2 separate regions of the Homo sapiens genome follow, and region 1 is linked to region 2. Evidence: promoter capture Hi-C in human tissues and cell types (Jung and others, 2019). All regions are on one chromosome and are shown on one strand. Each heading gives the region's core, a stretch centred on a gene start or on the middle of the fragment in contact. The rest is flanking DNA. Distances are from core to core; before and after follow the strand shown.

What was found. The method cuts DNA at HindIII sites, captures the fragments that hold promoters and counts their contacts. A contact is called where the count stands out against the background at its distance.
Region 1: a fragment that was not itself captured here is called in contact with the fragment with the promoter of FBLL1 in region 2 in 2 of the 25 tissues and cell types used here (H1 embryonic stem cells and bladder).

Annotation. Positions count from the first base shown.
Region 1 is chr5:168,457,719-168,464,244 of GRCh38, reverse strand. WWC1 (WW and C2 domain containing 1) reads right to left here. Exons shown (of 23, transcript NM_015238.3): 20 at 3,503-3,595. Among named protein-coding and RNA genes, the nearest start is that of RARS1, 25 kb to the left of the region's middle. The HindIII fragment of the contact is 8,999 bases long and covers 1-5,889 here.
Region 2 is chr5:168,525,553-168,531,829 of GRCh38, reverse strand. FBLL1 (fibrillarin like 1) reads right to left here and starts at 2,525. Exons shown (of 1, transcript NM_001355274.2): 1 at 1,196-2,525. The coding sequence starts at 2,325. The coding sequence ends at 1,321. RefSeq lists enhancers at 652-821, 1,677-2,218 and a silencer at 3,072-3,366. The HindIII fragment of the contact is 8,115 bases long and covers 1-6,277 here.

The sequences.
Region 1 (6,526 bases), core at 141-2,640, 66 kb after region 2:
TGAGGGCAGAAGTCATGTCTTCTTGACTTTGTGTTCCTGTAATGGGCCCCTATTGTTTCTGCTTGTCCACCATTTGTTTCCCCAGCCTTAGAGTAACAATGCCCTCACCTTCCCTTGGAGACCTCCTCCTCTGCACTCAATCCACCTGGTTTGTGTGGGGCATCAGGGATAGGAATGTGACCTGAACCTGGCCAGTCTGCATCTCAGTGACAGGTTCAGAGGTAAGCATGTTATCAAAGCCCAGCCATTAATACTCAATTCTGGCACTTTGCTGAACTACTTGGAAAAGAGACAATGTCTTTACACAGAGGTTGCTAAGCCTTCAAGATATAAACCTGGGACTGATCATGGTCATCTTTACTTGTGGGGTGACCTGTTTGAGAATTAAGCTGTACAGAGGGAGCAATGCCATGAGAAAGGGGCTGAGGCCTGATGACATCATTTCAACCTCTGGATCAAGCCATGCCTGAAGGTAGTCCAACATCCTGGATTTTTTCATTAAATGAGACAATAAATTCCCTCTTTCATTTTTAAGCTGTATTTGAGTTGGGTTCTTCAGTTATCTATACGTAAAAGACCCTGATTAATACAATCATTAACTCTCCTCCCATCAAAAATCACTAACGATTAAAAAACAATAATTCATGACTGTGGGAGTCAGAATTCTAAAATGGTTTCTCAAATCCCATTGCTAATATACACGCCCTGTATAATCTCCTCTCCTTTCATCAGGTAAGCCCCTAAAAGATGGCCTGGGCTTTTCCTGGCTGGGCTCTTCTGCTGGCCTTAAAGAAGTAAATAAAGCATGTTGTAGAGACCGTCACAGGGCAAAAACCTGAGAGTGACCTCTAGGAGCTGAAAGTGCTCCCCTAAACCCCCAGCTGACAGCTAGCAAGATAATACAAAGTAATAAATTCTGCCAACATCTGGAGGCAGTGCCTGGATCAGATGTTTCCTTAGTCAAGCCTCCAGATGAGTATGTGGCCATTTAACACTTAGAGGTTTCAGCCTGCTAAAACCCTGGGCAGAGCTCAGCTAACCTGTGCTTAAGCTCCTGACCAGCGGAAACTGTGAAGTAAGGCATTTGTATTACTTTAGGCTGCTAAGTTTGTGGTGATTTATTATGCAGCAATAGAAAACAAATACAATGACCAATACAGAGATTTCAGACACAGTATAAGAAGCATTACCATAAGACCTAGTCTCATTTTGCACGGCTGGCAAGCATACTATTAGGAATATAAGACAGCTCTAGGAAGAATTTCTAGAATGCTCTTCTAGGTTGAACATGGTCTGCTCTGCACTTATAAATGAGCAGGATCAAGGAAATCCAGCTGAGTGATCTACGTGGCTCAAGTTCTCAGAGCAACAAATAAAGATTCTTTTGCTTCGTCTGTCCAGTCTCAGAAGTTGGGCAGGCTGCGGTAGAGACAACACAGCTCAGGTAGTGCGTGGAAGCAAGGAGCAGTGCCCAAGGGCCCAGGCCCAGCCTCTGGATTCTCCTGTTCCTCAGGACCCGAGGGAAATGTGGGCTCAGACCCACCATCGGGGCTCCCTTATTAAGTCATTCTCTTGGTTAAGGGGAACAGGGGATGATGAAGGGGACCTGCTCCTGTAGGGCCTGCCTTAGAAGGGAGCTGTGGGAAACGCAGGGGGAGCAAGTAGGAGATCAGTGGCATTTCTGCAGGAGTGGACCATGAACATCTGCTCCAGAAGCCCCTAAGGAGCTTTGTTAAAATGCAGTTTTCAGGGCCCACGCCAGCTGCCTGAATTAAATGGTCAGAAGTGTGGCCTTGTAATCTGCATTGTCACCAAGCTCCCCAGGTAACTTTTGGTGCTCCAGAGACTGCAGTACAAGCCAGCTACAGAAGAGGGGGTTGGGGTGGGGGACCCAGAGTGGGCAGTTGGTTGTCCCTGTCACCTGAGGCCATGTCCACTTTCTCCCACACCCGCACACTCTGCCTTCCCTGTGTAGCCTCCCCTGTGTTGCTGTCTCTCTCCTCTCTCCAGTTCCCCCTCAGACTTGTTAAGGTGTAGGATGTTAGGCAAAGGACCAGATTCTGGCTGTCAGCAGGCAGTGCAGGAAAGGTGGGGGGCCTGCCCCTACTGGGGGCTATTGGCACTATCTTTTCCATCCATGTTCTCTTTTGCTTTCTCTCTCCTTTTTTCTTTCTTTCTTTTTTTTTTTTGAGATGTAGTTTCACTCTTGTTGCCCAGCTGGAGTGCAACGGCGCGATCTCGGCTCACTGCAACCTCCGCCTCCCAGGTTCAAGCAATTCTCCTGCCTCAGCCTCCCGAGTAGCTGGGATTACAGGCATGCACCACCACGCCCAGCTAATTTTGTATTTTTAGTAGAGACGGAGTTTCTCAATGCTGAGGCTGGTCTCGAACTCCTGACCTCAGGTGATCCACCTGCCTCGGCCTCCCAAAGTGCTGGGATTACAGGCGTGAGCCACCACGCCTGGCCCCTTTTTTCTTTCTGACATTCTGGCTCCTGGTTTCTTCTGGTTCTGCAAACTCATTAGACAGAACTGCTTTAAAGTTGTGTTGAAAGCCCAAAGTCGGGAGGGCCCCCTGCATCTCCTGCAGCCCTTAATGGTCAAAGACAAATCAGGGGTCGCTCCTTTGCCTACCCCCACCCCATCCGGATGGCTCAGCTCAGTCTCCACTAGGAAAGGCGAGACTTCCGCAAGGCAAGTCTGCAGCCTCTTCCCTGTGGGCTTCCCGCTGGTCTGAGGGAAGCCCATTTGCACTTCCCTGCTTCAGGCTGGTGCTCAGAGGCACCCAGCTTCTCTGTCACCAGAACCTGGACGACAGACACACTGAGCAGAGTCTTGCATGAGGAAGACTCCTGTCAGATGACGCGCTCTAACTGATGACTGTTGGGTTGGTTAATTCTTCTTTTTTTTTCCTGAGACAGAGTCTCACTCTGTTGCCCAGGCTGGGGTGCAGTGGCGCAATCTCAGCTCACTGCAACCTCTGCCTCCTGCGTTTAAGCGATTCTCCTGCCTCAGCCTCCCAAGTACAGCCTGGGACTACAGGTACACGCTACCACGCCCGGCTAATTTTTGTATTTTTAGTAGAGATGGGGTTTCACTGTGTTGGCCAGGCTGGTCTCAAACCCCAGACCTCAGGTGATCCTCCTACCTCGGCCTCCCAGAGTGCTGGGATTACAGGTGTGAGCCACGGGGCCCGGCTGGGTTGGTTAGTTCTTACTGACTTTGATTTCTATCTAGGAAGGCAAGGCCAAGTGTACACACTCCTCATCTAACCTATTTGTCATAATAAGACAAATACATTTACCCTTCAGCACCTTCCCCTGTGGCTACACAGGCCTCATAGTTCACAAACATCTGTTCGCAAATGCTTGAGAGAGCAACATTTTTCTAGCCAGTGGCTGAGGAGAAATGGCCAGACATTAGGAGATGTGTGTGCAGGACACAGGGCTTGGGGCAACGAGGGAGGAGCAGGCAGAAAAATAGCTTTGAGGTGACTCTCTTACCCGCTTCATCCGGACGCTGCGTCGCTCCAGGGAGTTTCGAACAAAAGGTGGCTTTTTGGACAGAGTGGAGCTGTCACTATCACTCCGATTCAGCTGCAAGAGAAAAGTCATGGAATCTTAAACATGGTCAGAGTGCATTCTGGAAGGTGCACTGAAGCCTAGAGGGAGGTCAGGTTCCTCCACTCGGCACAGTCCTTCCTCTCCTTCTGCAAACACCCAGGTTTCATTCTGACCTTTCTTTTCTTTATAAGTGAACATTCGTTAAGCATGTACTATGCATGATGCATACTGCTTCATCTCCATGCTAGTATCTGCACGATGCTAAATGCCACGAATATCCCATTGAACCTTTCCAACAACCCCATGTGATAGGAGCAAATCCATTTTCACAAGTGAGGTGACAGAAGCTTAGGGGTTGCAGAACTGGCCCAAGATTGGCGAGCTGGTCAGCCGCACAGCAGGGCTGGACACTGGCCAGCGTGACTTCAGAGTATACTGCCCTCTTAACCTTCTACACAAAGGGCCATTTGCATCAACTCTTCCCTGGTGTCTATGGAGCCTGCCTTTACTGACTCAAATGGAGCCACTGTCAAGATGGATATTTAAAAAAGAAAAAGACAGCTTAAAGGCAAAGCCTCAGGGACCATATCCTTAGAGATGATGGGGCAGATCGTAACTCTCCCCGTGGGCATCCGCTCGATCACTGAGTTATCTATACTCCCCCCAGAGGGCTAGTATTCCCCATCTAAGACCAGAAATCAGGCCTGTAGTCAGGATGGGAAGCTTCTATATTGAGAATGTGTCCCACCCCTAAGGAGCGCAAGGGAGAGTGGGTAGGATGACAGCACCCCCTGGGAGGTGGGAGCAGAGTGGGGATTTCTTTCTCGAGTCCTATTTCCAAAATCGGTGGGGTTGTGACAGGCCGATGCTATTGTGCTTGTGTGTCTAGCAGCTGTCAGTTCACTGTTGCAGGTCTCCTGAGAAGCTGTTTCTGTGGTTATTGATAATTAATTGTGATAATGATATTAATAGTCCTGCTAAGCTGACAAACACAGCAACTCCAGGGACAGACTGATGAAATAGCCACTGGGCTAGGCAGGGCCTCAACAGAACCAGACGCTGAATAGTAAAAATAATGACTGCCACATGGATAGAGCACCTGCTACGTGCCAGGTGCTTCAGTGACAGTTTCATTTAATCCTCAGACAATCCTAACATGATGGGAACTGAGGCCCAGAGAGATTAAGAAGCTTGTATAGTTGAACAGCTGGGGAGCATCAAAACCAGAGTTCAAGGCCCAGTCTGTTTGGTTCCAAGGCCACCAGCTCTCCTGGCTCCAGCCTGTAAGTAGGGCTCAGGGATGAAACTAATGTGCAGGTGGAAGGGTGTGCCATCTTGACAACTGGGGTAGATTCATATAAACTGGTTGCATGTGGTACCAGAAGGGGGCTTTCTCTTTCTTTCTTTCTTTTTTTTTTTTTTTTTTTTGAGACAGGGTTTCACTCCTTTCGCCCAGGCTGGAGTGCAATGGTGCTATCTCGTCTCACTGCAGCCTTGACTTCTCGGGCTCAAGTGATTCTCCCGCCTCAGCCTCTCAAGTAGCTGGGACTAAAGGCACGTGCCACTGTGCCCGGATAATTTTTGCATTTTTTGTAGAGACAAGGTTTCACCATGTTGCCCAGGCTGGTCTCAAACTCCTGGGCTCAAGTGATCCTCCCATCTCAGCCTCTCAATGTCCTGGGATTACAGATGTGAGCCACTGTGCCCAGCCTTTTATTCTACATTGTTTTAATCCAGTGGTGGCACTTGAAGGATATGTGTCCTACCGACCAGAAATGGGTATCAGGATAATTGATCCTTAAGTTGTAGTTGTTTACATGTTAAAGACTATGTTATATAAAAGAAAGACAGAAGCTACATTAAGTCCTTGAATTTAGCTTTCTCTAATATAAAGACACTTTAATGCATTTAATCTCAGACATGGTAGAGAATGTTGTCACCTTATTATTACTTGCATTTAATAGCTAGAGAAACTGATGCAGAGAGCAGTGAAATCATTTAGAATCACAGGAAGCTAGTTCAGGAATGAGAATTTAGGATGGGCTGTGTCTATTTGGTCAAAGTCAATCAACCCACAAATGTGGTAGCACTTCAGATGAATACATGGGGGCTGAGGAGAGCTGTAGGAAGGGTAATTCATTGTCCCTATCCATGGACTTCGAGTTCAGTGGGGGAACTCAAGACAGCAAAACTAACCAAGTGACATAGGTGAAGATGAAGATCGAACAAGGGAGGCACCCAGCAGAGGACGCCTTTTGTGCAGAGGCCAGTGGAAGGGGCTACTCACGATCAGACCCGAGGAGGCCAGAGGAAGGCCCTCAGGAGGTGGCTCTGAGCAACAGAGAGGCTGCAGGCTTTGGAGTTGGACTCCCAGCTTTGTACTTAGCAGCTGTGTGACCTAGAGCACAGTGCTTTGAGTTTTTGAGTCTTAGCTTCTGTGTCTATAAAATGGGGTTCACACAACTCACCTTACAGGGCTGTAAGATTAGATTACACAGAAAATATATTTTTTGGCTGTGGGGGCTGGAAGTGTTGCTGATTAGCATTTGAAATCCCATCCTGTGGGTGAGAAAACCCCACCTTATGACTTGGTGGGAAACAAAGCCAACCTCCCACTGATGAAGCTGAAAGTAGCAGAACCTTGCTTCTACTGCCTCCCTTGCAGCTAGAGGCAGGCACAGGACTAGCCTGTCAATTGGATGCAAATGCTCCAGGCCTTGAATCACAACCTGGTGACTTGCACCCAAGTCTATTACTATTGTCTCTTGAATTGAAACAGGCCACTCTTTCTCTCCTTCATTCTACAAATGTGCCAAGTTTGTTTTTATCTCAGGGAAAAGCCATTAATGGTAAGTAGTGGCAGTGGCAGCAGTGACCAGAGCTTCCATGCCAGCCATGGCAGGAACCTGGTGGAGGCATAAATATTGAATGCCAGGGGCAGCAACGGGGCCGGTGGGGGCCAGG
Region 2 (6,277 bases), core at 1,276-3,775:
AACCACAATTGCTGCCCAAGCACATCTTTAGAAAGGCAAATCCACCCTCCAAATGATACATTAGTGAGCAATCATTCAAAGACTAAATGTTGATGTGGGTCTTTTTGGCAGTTGGGAGTGTGTATGCATGCATGCATGAATGAATGAAAAGTCTGGCTTGGAGGGATTTACTGGGCCTTTGGGGCATTCTCAGCTTTCCTCGGATTACCCACTCTCCCTTCCCTTTGGGCTGCTTTGGAGAGAGACTGCGAGGTACTGAGACCAGCAACTTGGGAAGTGCAGGACATGCCTTGCAAAGACAGATACTTTCTGGGAGTAATTTGTCTGCCTGTTCTGCAGACACTTGGTGATACCACTTTGGGTATGTTATGCCCTGTAGTAGAGACAGTCTGCTAGCTAGACCCACATCTGCCCCGCATCTTGTTTTGCTATTGTGAAACCAAACAAAGGGGTAGCCCGGGGGGGACAGGGGAGGGCGAAAGAACACAATAAGGTCACAGGGCCCTGCTCTAAGTGTGTCCCTGTGCACATGCCATAGGGGTTGGGGACCAGAGACAAGATCCCCCTGGTGCTGAGGAAACAGCAATGGATTTAGAGCCCCGAAGACTGGCATTTAAGTTCTACCTCCTTACTGGCTATGTACGTTTGGGCAAAATAGTTTACCTTCAGAAGCCCTGTTGCTTCACATGTAATATGCAAGTGCTAACAAAGCCATCTCAGGGCTGGTGTGAGGAATAAATTTAACATTTATTTATTATTCACTTTAACAGTGAATGCAAAAGGGCTTAGTTGAAGAGTAAAATACTAAAAACCTATTGTGGTTAAGACTTTGGCTGTGAGTCAGATGATTGGTGTGTTTGACTATATTATTGTCCACCAACATTCAGTGTTTTTCCCGAGTCAGGCTGGGTCATGTGACTTGGCCAAATGTGAGCAGAAGTGCCCCATCAGTTCCAAGGGGACATTTAAAAGCTTTTATTAGCAATTCCGCAGCTCTCTTTCCTCTGCCCTAGGGATGGGGGGAGCATGTGTGAAAATGGGGCCCTGGGGAGTTGGAGACCTGAGTGATTAGAATGAGCACAGCTCCCAGGCTACTGCTGGATGGGCCCCTTATACCAGCCGGTTTAGGCCACTGGGATTTGGGGGTTGATTGTTACTGCAGCAAAACCTAGCCTGGCATCACCATACAGATAGGTGCCGTTTCTTTATGCAGTTTAATAGAAAAACAACAAAACAAAACACTCACAAAGAAAACACACAGAAAATAATAGCAAACACAACGCAGCCTTGGGGAGATGGCAGGCGAGCCTGAGCTGGGTGCTATTTGCTGCTGCTCTTGGGAAGAGGTCGGTAGACCCCGACCACCACAGCGTGGTCCCGCTCATAGGGCTCCAGGGTCAGCTGCTCTTGAGGCTTCAAGTTCTCCTGCTGCAACTTCCTCACCTCAGAAGCAAACACAGCCTCGGCGGATGCGGTGGAGTCGATGCAGTTGGCCTTGATGGAGATGAGAAAGTGGCCCCCATTGCGCAGGAAGGTGTGGGCGTTCAGGGCCACGATGCGGGACTGGTCCGGCTGGGCCACGTCGGCGAAGATCACGTCCACCATCCCGATGAGCATGCGGTACTTGAGCGGGTGCCGCGCGTCCTCCAGGACCGGAATGATGTTGGTGCGCTTCTTGGCCACGTTGACCAGATCGCGGCCGGCGCGGTGGGAGAACTCGACGGCGTAGACCAGGCCGTCTGGGCCAATGATGTCGGAGACATGGGAGACGGTGGTGCCCGACGCGGCGCCCAGGTACAGCACCTTGGACTTGGGCTTGATGTGGATCTGGTCCACCCCGCCCAGGATGGCCGCGGCCAGCTTAGAGCGGAACGGGTTCCACGTGCGGTACTCCTGCTTCACGCCGCCCTCGGTCACCGTGACGCGCCTCTCGCCGTACACAGACTGGCCCGGCACCATGTTCAGCGTGACCAGCGCGTCCTCCGCCCCGCGGTAGATGAAGACGCCCTCGTGCCGGTGCGGCTCCACCGACACCACCATGGCGCCCTTCCTGCGGCGGCTCTTGCTCTTGGCCACGCCGCCCCGCCGCTGTCCACCGCCGCCGCGATCCTTGCCGTCGCCGCCGCCGCGCCCCCGGCCCCGGCCGCCCCCGCCGAAGCCGCGCGCCCGCGCCCCGAAGCCGCCCTTGCCCCCCTGGCCGCCGCCGTCGCCCCCGCCGCCCTTGCCCGCGCCGCCGCCGCCGCCTCGGCCCCCGCCCCAGCTGCCCCAGCCGCCGCCCCCGCGGCCGCCCCCACCGCCCCCGCGCGAGCTCGCGGCCGACTTCATGGCACGCACCGGGGCGGGTGCCGTGGGTTACCGGTGCCTCGGGGCGGGTGTCAGGGGGCTCTGGTGGCTCTGGGTGGTCGTCCCGGCGGTTGTCCGCGGGTTTAGCAGCGGAGGCGGGCGGCGGGCGGCGGGCGGCGGGGGCAGGACGGGCTCTACCGCAGTGCCCGCATCCCGGAGCCGCCCCTTGACGCAGCGGCTGTGGCGCGATTGCATCACACCCGTCCCCGCGACCCTGCGGCCCGGAAGCCCCGCTTCCCAGCCCGCGTGCAGACGCAGCCTGCTCCTCTTCGCTCACCCTGCCCCTTCCCCATCTCCCGCCTTCCCAGGGATCCCTGGCACTTCCCTGGGCCACAGGGACGGGGGCGTCTCTGCTGCAGGAGAGGGGGAGGTAAGCATCAGCGTCGGTCCTGGCTGTGCCACCAGTTCTGGGACTATTGATCAGCAAGGAAGTGTTGTTGATTCTTCAGTGTGAATGGGGATACACAGAGAGCCAAAATGTCATGTTCATCCTCGAAGTCTAGTCTATGCTTCAAAGTCACTCTCTAAATCTGCAGCATTTTCTTGAGGAAAGAAAGAAAAAGAGAAAAAGAAAGAAAGAGAGAGAAAGAAAAGAGAGAGAGGGAGAGGAGAAGAAAAGAAAAGAATAATTGGGCAGCACCAAGGGCAGCAACGAGAAGAAAAGAAAAAAAGAAAAGAACAGAAAGAAAATAAAAGAATAACTCGGCACCACCAATGGCCCCAAGGCCGCAACGCAGAGGCTTTAGGGTTTAGTCAGCACCAGGGACAGCGACAGCAGTTGGGGCCCCCGTTTTGGCTACTGCTAGGGGCTTTGGGAACCACACAAGAGCTGGGGAAAGTAGGATAGGTGGTGAAACAACTGGCCAGCCTCCCGTTAGTTGAATTAAGTGTCTACTCGAGAGAGAGAGAGAGAGAGACAACGCGCACCTGAAGATCGGAGCATTTACTGAACACCTGGTATGTGCAGTATGACTTCCGTTCCATCCTGGACCACAGCTCTTCCCGTCTCATACTCATGGACGACAGTGCCAGGTCTGATTTTCCCTGAGGACTGGAGTGTCTCCTTAATGGGGACCAGAGTTTTATACACTGGAATGTGAACAAGGGATCAGTGAGTGAAATGTATGATTCCTGAGGTTGAATGGTTCACATAAAATACTCTACTTAGAGGTTTCCATTCTTGCTATAAGGTGAATATTTTCCAAAATGATGAACTACACTTGGTGTCTGTGAGGGTTAATTTTATGTGTCAACTTTACTGGGCCATGGGATGCCCAGATATTTGGTCAAATAGTATTCTGAGTGTTTCTGTGAGGGTGTTTTTTGATGAGATTAACATTTAAATTGGTATATTGAGTAAAGCTGATTGCCGTCTACGATGTGGCTGGGCCTCATCTAATCAGTTGAAGGCAGAAATAAAGCAAAATGCTGACCTTCCCCACGGAAGAGAGAATTCTCCTGCCCAAGGGCCTTTCAACTGGCACATCAGCTCTTTCTGCCTGACAACCTTTGGACTGGGACATTGGCCCTGCGGATTTTGGACCTGCTGGTCTCCACAATCACATGAGCCAATATATATCCTATATATACACACATATATATATCCTACAGGCCTGTGTCTTTGGAGAACCTTGAATAATAGAGATCCTGAGACAAAGCCTTGAGTCCAATTGGTTTGTGAGGTGATCCCAGGAAGCACATGTTGGGGAGGCAAAAATGAGATAGAGAAGATAGAAAGGTTAAGAAAGAACTGGGCACAGTGCCTCACACCTGTAATCCCAGCACTTTGGGAGGCCAAGGTGGGAGGATTGATTGAGCCCACGAGTTCAAGACCAGTCCTAGCATGATAGCAAGACCCTGTCTCTACAAAAATAAACAAGACTTAGCCAGGTGTCATGGTGTGTACCTGTAGTCACTGTAGTACCTGTAGTCACTGTAGTACCTGTAGTACCTCAGCTACTGAGGAGGCTGAGCTGGAGGGGTCGCTTGAGCCTGGGAGATCAAGGCTGCAGTGAGCTGAACTCACACCACTACACTCCAGCTTAGGTGACAGAGGGAGACCCTGTCTCAAAAAAAAAAAAAAAAAAAAAAAGAGGGTAGATTAATGAGTAGATGACCACAGTGGACAATGGGAGCTCAATTGCTGTGAGTATTCTGAGAAACTGTGTGGAAGGCATCTCAGAATTGTTCTACTGCAGGTTGGAGGCTGGGGCATTAATCCACTGTCTTAATTTGTTTCTATACCTGAGACTGGGTAATTTATAAAGAAAAGGGCTTTATTTTTTCTTTTTTTATTCTAAGATAGGGTATCACTCTGTCACCCAAGCTGAGTGCAGTGGCACAATCATGGCTATTGCAGCCTTGATCTCCCAGGCTCAAGCAATCCTCCCACCTCAGCCTCCTGAGTAGTTGGGACTACAGGTGTGTGCCACCACACCAGGCTAAAATTTTATTCTTTATAGAGATGGAGCCTCACTATGTTGCCCAGGCTTGTCTCAAACTCCTGGACTCAAGCAGTTCTCCTGTTTCAGTCTCCTAAAGTGCTGGGATTACAGGTGTGAGCCACAGTGGCCAGCCAGGTTTCTTTCTATATAGGTATAAACCATCATGCCTGGCAATTTTTTTTTTTTTTTTTTTTACTTTTTGTAGAGATGAGACCTCATTATGTTGCCCAAGCTGGTCTCCAACTCCTGGCCTCAAGCCATCCTCCTGCCTCAGCCTCCTGAGTTGCTGGAATTCTAGGCACAAGCCTCCACACTTGGCACCATGTATACTTTTGTTTACAATTGACTTGTTATTCCAGAAGATGTGCCCTAAAGTAATGATCATAATTACATCTGTGACTAGGCCTCAGTAGTAGACATAGTGCACATCAATCATTCCCATAGACTTAAAAAATGCATGAGGAATTTTGCTTATTTTCTCACAGAACCATTCCAACAAATTGCCCAAGGAGTAACTAGCCATGATTGACATGAAACCAGAGGTAATACTCTATAACCCCATCTCCATTCTCATTATACTTTAAGCATCCATGCATGAAGAAACTTGTTTTCTCTAAGCCATGGTCCACCTCCAAAGGTGACTGACTGTAGGGATCTGATCTCCACCCCAGTGACAGGTGCAGCTATATTTGCTCAAGAGGAGTTGGGCTATGATGCAGTAACATAGAACTCCAAAATCTCAATGTATTAATACAGCTATGTTTAGATTTCTTATGTTTTATGTCCACTGAGAGTCAGCGGGAGGTTTGCACCACACAGCCACTGAAGAACTCAGGCCCCAACATCTTGTGGCTGCAACATGAGAAAAAAGAGGGCCTCCACTGTACTGCTGAAGAATAGAGTGCAGAGAACTCACAACCTTTTTGTATGTTTAGTCTGGACTTTGACACAATCATTTCTACTCACCACGGATTGCAGCCTTGATCTCCCAGGCTCAAGCAATTCTCCCACTTCAGCCTCCTGGCTGATGACTGGCCAAAGCCAGTCACATGCCCTGCCTAGCTGAAAGGCAGCTGAGATATGTGGGTGCCATAACTGGGGAACAGTAAATGTTTTTACCTAGGTGTCTACTGCATAATGCCAGCTGGCACACCTGGATCAGTGCACCAAACACAAACACCTCAGGTGAAATTTACTGTTTGGCGTGCATATATTTAAATTTACTCGTCAAGACAAAATATAATACCTCCTTCCTAACACGACTAAAACTCACAATCTTAGTCAACTCCCAATAATATATCTAATATAGCTGGTTAATTAATTAGAAAAAGAGAATCTTCTCCCTTTTTGTAGCCTCTGGGACTTGGAAAGTAGCTAAAATCCCTTATTTGGGATGTCATTATTGTTTGGCCATTACTTCTGCTGGGGGACACTTCGTCTCTTGGTGGCTCAGACTCTTACTCCATTCCCCACTGTAGAATTAGTGGCTG